3 separate regions of the Homo sapiens genome follow, and all the other regions are linked to region 1. The links are contacts of gene promoters, found by promoter capture Hi-C in blood cells and fetal thymus (Javierre and others, 2016). All regions are on one chromosome and are shown on one strand. Each heading gives the region's core, a stretch centred on a gene start or on the middle of the fragment in contact. The rest is flanking DNA. Distances are from core to core; before and after follow the strand shown.

Region 1 (3,180 bases), core at 201-2,700:
GCCTTCTGAATCCTCAAATTGCTCAATCCTCAGATTGCTCCTCAATCTGGAAAATGTTTTATATCAAGCCCATTTATAAATCAAGGATTGGCAATTTAAAAAATTAAAATAAAGAAAGGAGAATTGGAAATAAAATGAATTGGCTGGGCACGGTGGCTCACGCCTGTAATCCCAGAACTTTGGGAGGCCGAGGTGGGTGGATCACTTGAGGTCAGGAGTTCGAGACCAGCCTGGCCAACATGGTGAAACCCTGCCTGTACTGAAAATACAAAAATTAGCTGGGTGCGGTGGCGCACACCTGTAATCCCAGATACTCAGGAGGCTGAGGCAGGAGAATCGCTTGAACCCAGGAGGCGGAGGTTGCAGTGAGCCGAGATCGTGCCACTACACTCCAGCCTGGGCAACAGAGCCAGACTCTGTCTCAAAAAAAAAAAAAAAGTTTAATTCACGCAGAGCCAGCTGAACGGCAGACAGGAGTTTGGTTATTCAAATCAGCCTACCAGAAAATTCGGAGACTGGGGTTTTTAAAGAATGACTTGGCGGGTAGGGGGCCAGGGATTGGCGAATGCTAATTTGTCAGGTGGGAGGTGAAATCACAGGGGGTTGAAGTGGGCTCTTGCTGTCTTCTGTTACTGAGTGGAATTGCAGAACTTGTTGAGCCAGATTATGGTCTGAGTGGCGCCAGCTAGTGCATCGGAATGCGCGGTCTGAAAAGTATCTCCAGCACCAATCTTAGGTTTTACAATAGTGATGTTATCCCTGAGAGCAATTGGGGAGGTCAGGAATCTTATAGCCTCTGGCTGCAAGCCTCCTAAATCATAATTTCTAATCTTGTGGCTAATTTGTTAGTTCTACAAAGGCAGACTGATCCCCAGGCAAGAATGGGGTTTGTTTTTGGAAAGGACTGTTACAATCTTTGTTTCAAAGTGAAATTAGAAATTAAATTCCTCCTGTAGTTAGTTAGGTCTTCGCCCAGGAATGAACAAGGGCAGCTCGGAAGTGAGAAGCGTGGAGTCATTTAGGTCAGATCCCTTGCACTGTCATAACTTTCTCACTGTTAGGATTTTTGCAAAGGCAGTTTCGTGAACGTACAGAGACAGGCCCTTGCTATTATCCCTATTTTTTAGATAAGGATATCCAGGCGATGAGGAAGTTTTACTTCTGGGAACAGCCTGGATACGAAACCTTCACACGTCAGTGTCTTTTGGACATTTTCTCGTCAGTACAGCCCTGTTGAATGTTCTCACGGTGGGGAGGTACGTGTTTAAAATGCGGGGAAGGTGCTTTTATTTCACCCCTGGTGAAACTAGGGGAGCTAATTTTTTTAAACATGATTTTTGGCCCCCTTGAACCGCCGGCCTGGACTACGTTTCCCAGCAGCCCGTGCTCAAGACTACGGGTGCCTGCAGGCGGTCAGCGTCGTTTGCGGCGGCGCAGGCGCGGTGCGGGCGGCGGACGGGCGGGCGCTTCGCCGTTTGAATGGCTGCGGGCCCGGGCCCTCACCTCACCTGAGGTCCGGCCGCCCAGGGGTGCGCTATGCCGTCGGGAGGTGACCAGTCGCCACCGCCCCCGCCTCCCCCTCCGGCGGCGGCAGCCTCGGATGAGGAGGAGGAGGACGACGGCGAGGCGGAAGACGCCGCGCCGCCTGCCGAGTCGCCCACCCCTCAGATCCAGCAGCGGTTCGACGAGCTGTGCAGCCGCCTCAACATGGACGAGGCGGCGCGGGCCGAGGCCTGGGACAGCTACCGCAGCATGAGCGAAAGCTACACGCTGGAGGTGCGCTCGCGGGCGGAGGGGCGCTTCCGGCCTAGTTGGCGTGAACCGGTGCCTTCCGAGCCGCGTCGCGCGCCTCGAGAGACTCTCGGGCGGGTTGCGGGCTCCCAGCCCCGAGAGGGGTGGGGACTTCCTCTGCGCTATTCCGAGGCTCTTAGCCGCTCCGAGGGCTAACCCGCTCTCGCCGCGCTTTCCTGCGGCTTCCGAATGGGGAACGCGTCTTGCCCTAAAGTAGCACAGCAAGGCTGAGATCGCGCTGGGGTCCCGTTGAGGAAAATGGGTGTGTGTGGCCCATCTGACCCCCCGCCCGCCTTGTTAGTAGAATGAACTAGTGTCGTTGTCAAGACCACACGGACAAGGGGAGGGGACTTGCCCTTATTTGCACCGCGATTAACCGGGTTGTGGCACCTGGGTCTCCAGGCGTCTCCGTCTGTTCGCTTCCCCCTGTTAACCAAATTGCCTTTGCCCTGGCGTTGCGGGCGTTTGAGTCAACGTGCTGATGCGTTTTGGGCTGTGTTTACGTCTGTGTAAACAAATTAATACTCATTTCCCCCCAGGCCAGATGAAATGAGCCCTCCGCCGACCCGGATGTAGACACATGCCCCCATTTGTCACTAGGATCAGGACTGTGGCTACCTCGAGGGCTTTTTGGTCACCCCGGGCATTGCACAGGACTCCTGTTGTTGTTGCGATCCGGGTGTGTTAGGTCGCAGCCTTCGGACAGGGCTTGCAGATGAGAAAAATGGCCATTCTAGCCAGTGAGTGTCAGCTTTGTATGCACCTCCCCTTCATGGGCCAATGGGAAGTGACACGGAAGTACGGATTGTTTATCAGCTGTTTGACTGTGTGTGTGGCATTTAAACCTGAGGCCATTTGATTTCTCAAGTCGTTTTATAATTAATTTGTAGAAAGAGTCGGGCAAATAGGTCCAGGATGCAAAGCCTAACCAAGGTATTATTTAAATATGATGTTTTTGGCTATGTGTACTGATGAGTGAGGTTATTTTTAATTTGTATTTGCATTAATAGAATTTTAATTCAATTACTAGTTCCCTCTTTGAATTGTTAGGTCTGCAGAAGATAGTGTATGGTGGCTTTAGAACCCGACAGACCTGAAACCGCTGGAAAAGTTCAGTATGGTGATCTCTAAACTGGAGATATTTGTGTTTACCTCACAGAGCTGTTCTGAAGATTAAATAAGGCAATAATGTAGTTTCTGGCACATAAAGCACCCATATGGACAGTGTTTTCAAGTTTACTAAGCTCTTTGTATATTTACATGATCTGGCTGAGTAAGCTATGTTCCTATTCATCTCTCAGTGCCTTTCTGTAGTCTGGCAAAGAGAAGGACTGGTTGGCTTTTTATGTTGTTTTTTGTTTTTTGGGTTTTTTTTTGGTAAATGGCCTT
Region 2 (3,309 bases), core at 788-3,287, 130 kb before region 1:
GGTCCTTGATTTTTTTTCAAATTTTTTTGTTTTGAACTACTTTTAAAATTACAGAAGAGTACAAAAAATGTACGAGGAGTTTCCATCTATCTCTCACCCTTCCTCTCTCTTTCTTTTTTTTCTTTTTTTTTTTTTTTTGAGATGGAGTCTCGCTCTGTCGCCCAGGCTGGTATGCAGTGGCGTGATCTCGGCTCACTGCAAGCTCCGCCCCCGGGTTCATGCCATTCTCCTGCCTCAGCCTCCCGAGTAGCTGGGACTACAGGTGGCTGCCACCACACCCGGCTAATTTTTGTGTTTTTAGTAGAGACGGGGTTTCACCGTGTTAGCCAGGATGGTCTCAATCTCCTGACCTCATGATCCACCCGCCTCGGCCTCCCAAAGTACTGGGATTGCAGGCATGAGCCACTGCGCCTGGCCCTTCCTCTCTTAATGTTAACATTTTACCAGAGTAATTATAGTATAATTATCAAAACAAGAAATTAACATTAAAGCCATTAACTAAACTAAATACCTATTTTAATTTTACCAGTTTTTCAACTAATGTCCCTTTTTGTTCCAAGATCCTACAATGTATTTGGTTTTTCTTTCTCGTTAGCTTCCTGCAATCCGTAACAGGTTCTCAGCTGTTCCTTATCTTTAATGACTTTGATACCTTTGAAAAGTGTTGATCAGTTATTTAGCCATGTATCCCTCAATTTGAGCTTGTCTTATGTTGTTACATGACTGGATTGAGGTCATGCATTTTTGGCAAGAGTGCCACAGAAATGATGTGTTCTCAGAATGTAATATCAAGGGATTGGAGATGTCAGTATGTCTTATTACTGATGATGTTGACTTTAATTGTGTGGTTAAGGTAGTTTATGCTGCATTTGGCCAGTGTAAAATTACTGTAATTAACAAATATCTTAAGCTTCACAAATCTTGTTTCTTCTCAAACTTTCACCCATTGATTTTTAGTATCTGCCAGATACTAAATCTTGTCTACAACAGTTTTTTCTGTGGAATTCTGCTGTAAGAAAGGATGTTTCATTCTCTCTCATCTATTTAATCAGTTATTTATTCATATCAGTATGGATTCATGGGTATTTATTCTATAGGTTACAATCCAATATTGTCTTTATTTATTGCTCAGATTGTTCCATATTTGGCATTAGGAGCTGCTTATGTTGGTCCCTGCATTGTTTCAGCAAGCCCATGTTTCTTGAGTACTTCCCAAGTGTCAGTAACCCACTTTTGCAAAGGCATAACCTTATCAGAGGTATGAGGTAGCATGAGTTCATGTTGAAACTGAACTATCTCAAGCTAGTAATTTGTGCAGTGTTTGAAAGATGTGGCTGTGTTTCCCTAGAAATTTGAGAAAGCCCTTGTTGCCCCTGTGAGTTCACTCCAATGTCCTCTTACCTTTTGCAGTTTGAGATATGCCAGCTTACATTTGTTTATGGAGTATCACTTAACACAAGCTTGTCCAACCTGTGGCCCAGGACAGCTTTGAATGCGGCCCATCACAAATTCGTAAACTTTCTTAAAATATTATGAGTTTTTTTTTTTTTTTTGCAATTTTTTTAAGCTCATCAGCTATCGTTAGTGTTAGTGTATTTTATATGTGGCCCAATACAATTCCTCTTACAATGCAGCCCAGGGAAGCCAAAAGATTGGACAACCCTGAACACTTCTAATTTATAAGTGAGTTTGAGCAAGTGTTTGTGTTATTAAGACAAATGTTATTAAATGCATCGCTCATAGGGAATTTCTTAAAATTCCCAGTTCTATTAATGTACTTCCAAAATAATCTTATGTTTTACATTAACATCCAGTATTTTATGTTACATGATTTTTAGTACTTACTTTTAAAACTTTCTCCTTTTTAAAGCTTTTACTGAAATTTCAAAATTTCAAAATCCTCACTGAATTTCTCCTCACTGAAAAGAAATTCTGGAAACTATACAGTGATATTGCATGGAGGCACATTTTAGAAATGGTATTGTTATAAATATATAAAGATGTATTTATAATGATTTATTTATAAATAAAGGATTTTTGAGATTAATATTTTTGTCCTTGTTTCAATATGTAGAATTGGTGGATCCAAATATTTTTATCCAGCCCATCACAGAAGAACGTGCTTCTAGGACTTTGTATCGCATTGAACTTCTAAGGAAAGTACGGGAACAGGCCCTTCGACATCCACAGTTGTTTGAACGCTTGAAGCTTTGCCATCCAAATCCAGATTTACCAGTCTGGTGGGAATGTGGCCCTCATGATAGGGATTTGCTTATTGGTGCTGCCAAACACGGGGTGAGCCGAACAGACTATCACATTCTTCGTGATCCTGAACTCTCATTTATGGCAGCTCAGAGGAACTACAGTCAAAGTAAGATGGCTCATTCAAGGACTTCTACCCCACTTCTACAGCAATATCAAGTAGCACTTTCTGCTTCTCCTCTTACCTCTCTACCTAGGCTCCTAGATGCTAAAGGTATTATTCTAGAGGAGATGAAAGTTAAAAGTGAAAACCTTAAAGAGGAGCCTCAGTCTTCTGAAGAAGAATCTATGTCTTCTGTGGAAACCAGGACACTAATAAAATCTGAGCCTGTAAGTCCAAAGAATGGTGTTTTACCACAGGCTACTGGAGACCAGAAATCTGGTGGAAAATGTGAAACAGACAGACGCATGGTTGCAGCCAGAACAGAACCCCTAACTCCAAACCCAGCTTCTAAGAAACCAAGAGTCCACAAAAGGGGATCAGAATCTAGTTCTGATTCTGACTCAGATTCTGAGAGATCATCTTGTTCTTCCAGATCATCTTCTTCCTCATCATCCTCTTCTTGCTCCCACTCTCGATCAGGCTCTAGTTCTTCTTCATCTTCATCTTGTTCTTCAGCATCTTCTTCATCCTCTTCCTCCACCTCTTCCTCCTCCTCCTCCTCTTCATCTTCATCAGAAGAAAGTGACAGTGATGAAGAAGAAGCCCAAAAACGAGGTACTATGCATAAAATAATTCTACTTTTTTAACATAACTTTTCTTTTCTTTTCTTTTCTTTTCTTTTCTTTTTTTTTTTTTTTTTTGAGATGGAGTTTTGCTCTTGTTGCCCAGGCTGGAGTGCAATGGCGCAATCTCAGCTCACTTCAACCTCCACCTCCTGGGTTCAAGCGACTCTCCTGCCTCAGCCTCCCAAGTAGCTGGGATTACAGGCATGTGCCACCATGCCTGGCTAATTTTGTATTTTTAGTAGAGACGGGGTTTCTCCATGTTGGTCAGGCTGGTCTCAAACTCCCGACCTCAGGTGATCTACCCGCCTCAGCCTCCCA
Region 3 (3,196 bases), core at 486-2,985, 150 kb before region 1:
CTGTCAGTTCTCAGTTCATTGATTTCCACTTACAGCTTTATTCCAGTAACATCTATGTTATATATACAGAATTAAAAGCATACACTACCAAACTATGTCTGTCAGTCACCACATTACCTCGTGGGAGGGTGGCATGTGTAACCTACCCTTCCTGGATGTAAATCTAAGACAACTTCCTCTCTCAGGAAGAGTTCTCATGTGAGATATGTTTGTGTGTTTGTGTGTGGGTATGATCAGTTTATCCTATTTCTCATATTAACTGATAAATGTAACTGAAATTTTACTTTAGTAGATATCTATTACCAGATCATTTAATGTTTGTGATAATTTCTAGAAAACATACTTAACCTATATCATTTTAATGTATTATCCCTTTAGTCCAGAAATATCATCCACTGTAAATACGAGGAATGCTTATATGTATACACCTTTCTTCTTTTTATCTTTTTTACTTTTGTAATTGGTGATGTTTTCAGGATATGAAAAATATAACACTATTCGAGCAGACCCAGCATTATGCTTCTTGGAAAGAGTGGGAAAACCTGATGAGAAAGCAGTTGCTGCTGAACAGAGAGCGAATGATTATATGGATGGGTATGTGTGTTTCAGAGTCATGAATTTTCTATATATCTCTCTTCTATTCAATATCAGCATATTCTATGTCACACTATTTATCTTTAAATGAGGTAGCAGTAAGGGAATTGGAGTTTACAATCTGAAAGAGCTAAAGATACCCTAATAGGTTAGCACTTATCCAACAGAATGTGATCGAGGAAGAGGTTGGACCTGCCCCACACCCATTCTTTTGATGAGTTTTTCATTTCTTTCATTTTAACAGCTATATCATGGCCACTGAGTTCATAAACTTCTAGGGGCATAGGGGGAGAAAAAGGCAAGAATGTTATAGTTGATGAGACATATGATGACATTTATTACATAGTCATCCCTCAATATCCATGGGGGATTTTGGTATTCAGGACACCCTGCAGATACCAAAATCCAAGGATGCTCTAGTCCTATATATAAAATTGCATAGGATTTGCATTTAACCTATGCACATTCTCCCGTATGCTTTAAACTATCTTTAGATTATTTATAATTCATAGTACAATATATATGCTGTATGCTATGTAAATAGTTGCTATACTGAATTGTTAAGGGAGTAATGACAAAAAAAAAAGTCTGTACATGTTCAGTACAGATGCCATTTTTTTCCAGATATTTTCTTGAGACAGGGTCTTGCTCTGTCATCTAGGCTGGAATGCAATGGCACAATCATGTCTTACTGCAGCCTTGACCTCCCAGGCTCTAGTGATCCTCCCACTTAGTCTCCTGAGTATCTGGGACCACAGGCACATGCCACCATGCCCAGCTAATTTTCTTGTATTTTATTTTTTGTAGAGATGAGGTCTCCCTGTGTTGCACATGCTGGTCTTGAACTCCTGGGCCCAAGTGATCTTCCACCTTAGCCTTGGCTTCCCAAAGTGCGGAGATTATAGGTGTGAGCCATCATGGACCAGCTTTTTTCGCATATTTTCAAACTGAAATTGGTTGAATTTATAGATATGAAACCCACACATAACGAAAGGCCAACTGTACCTGTTTTAAGGCCTTATGTAATCTGTCTTTTCTTACCCAAAGAGAAAAGTAAGGAACACTTTGTGGTTAATAATAATGCATTTAAAAGCGAACTCGCGGCTGGATGCACTTGCTCACGCCTGTAATCCCAGCACTTTGGGAGGCCAAGGCAGGTGGATCATTTGAGGTCAGGAGTTCGAGACCAGCCTGGCCAACATGGTGAAACCCCGTCTCTACTAAAGATACAGAATTAGCCAGGTGTGGTGGCATGTACCTGTAGTCCCAGCTACTCGGGAGGCTGAGGCAGGAGAATCTCTTGAACCCGGGAGGTGGAGGTTGCAGTGAGCTGAGATTGTGCCACCGCACTCCGGCCTGGGCGACAAGAGTGAAACTCCGTCTCAAAAAAAATAAAAATAAAAGTGAACTTGTGAGTAAGGGTACATTAGAACTAGCTTTCTCCCTATTTGCTTTATAACAGCCTTCCTGCTGTGTCTTGGGCTCTTCTGGCTAGAGAAGAGACGTCAGTCTGACTTTTAAAACAAACTAAAACCCTCCAACAAGACTTTGTCCTATCAAGTGAAATCTTAAGTCCATTACAGTAATTATAGCATTTGTTTGTATTTTAACAGGGATGTGGAAGATCCAGAATACAAACCTGCCCCAGCCATCTTTAAAGATGATATAGAGGTATGCATTGGATCATATTTTTAAATCCTCAATTTTAGGTATTCTTTGGTTTCTTGTGTTTGCTTTTTCTTTTGCATTATATTTTGTTTTCATTATACATAATTCTTCTGTTCCTCAGATTAGCTAAGTAAGTGATCAACTTGGGTTGACAAACATCTCAAATAATCACTCAGAATTCACCTGATCTCCCCTTTTAGACAAGATGGGGGCTGGCTTGGACATGTGGATGCAATGGGGCTTGCCCACCTGCTCTACTTCTTAGAGCTAAGAAACACAGTGTCCAAGGGCAAAATCCCAAAGGAGAGTGAGAACTAGATACTAAAGATATACTGCAAGAGTTAGAAACTATACCTACATGAAGAGGTTTGAGATAGAGGGTAGAGCATCAAGGAATTCTGAGTTGCCAAAGCATAGTTCTCAGTGCTCTGTTTGTAGAATGTCAAAAGGAAGAAGAGTTGGATGAAAGTACAGAAAATAATCTGTAGAGTGGGGAAAAGGATTTTAAAAGAGATGAGGAATGTCTAATATTTATGAGAGTGTGGTAAAAGGCTAAATGACGCTAAAGCTGTCAGGTAGGATTTGCTGGACTTGGTAGCTAAGGGGCTTGATGCCTTGATGAGGGCATGAGACAAGGCTTGCTCCAGTGTGTGGGCAATGAAAACCAAAATCCTATATGAGGTCAAGAGTCTCAAAGGCCAGTAATTACTGACAAACAGCACGGAGAAATAGCAAGGAAATTTATCTCATCACGGACTTTGGGTAAGAAAATTATTGTTTCCCTTGAGAATTTGTAACCATAGACCCACCTTCTCTTGAGTTCGTGATTTGTCTTTTACTTTATCTGTGTGGTCCAAGAGCCCTCAGTGTAATATAAAAAAGGATCAGTCCTTTACTGGTAATATATCTAGGGTGCCTGGTAAAAACAAAAAGC

What was found. The method cuts DNA at HindIII sites, captures the fragments that hold promoters and counts their contacts. A CHiCAGO score of 5 or more calls a contact.
Region 2: a fragment that was not itself captured here is called in contact with the fragment with the promoter of RBL2 in region 1 in 2 of 17 cell types (neutrophils and monocytes); the score reaches 9.3 in neutrophils.
Region 3: a fragment that was not itself captured here is called in contact with the fragment with the promoter of RBL2 in region 1 in 6 of 17 cell types (neutrophils, total CD4 T cells, non-activated CD4 T cells and 3 more); the score reaches 14.5 in neutrophils.

Annotation. Positions count from the first base shown.
Region 1 is chr16:53,433,021-53,436,200 of GRCh38, forward strand. RBL2 (RB transcriptional corepressor like 2) reads left to right here and starts at 1,451. Exons shown (of 22, transcript NM_005611.4): 1 at 1,451-1,776. The coding sequence starts at 1,537. RefSeq lists a silencer at 1,506-1,725 and an enhancer at 2,336-2,445. The HindIII fragment of the contact is 5,814 bases long and covers 1-3,180 here.
Region 2 is chr16:53,301,646-53,304,954 of GRCh38, forward strand. It overlaps CHD9 (chromodomain helicase DNA binding protein 9), which reads left to right. Exons shown (of 39, transcript NM_001308319.2): 31 at 2,075-2,980. Among named protein-coding and RNA genes, the nearest start is that of RBL2, 130 kb to the right of the region's middle. The HindIII fragment of the contact is 338 bases long and covers 1,869-2,206 here.
Region 3 is chr16:53,285,750-53,288,945 of GRCh38, forward strand. CHD9 (chromodomain helicase DNA binding protein 9) reads left to right here. Exons shown (of 39, transcript NM_001308319.2): 26 at 477-594; 27 at 2,208-2,265. Among named protein-coding and RNA genes, the nearest start is that of RBL2, 150 kb to the right of the region's middle. The HindIII fragment of the contact is 5,858 bases long and covers 1-3,196 here.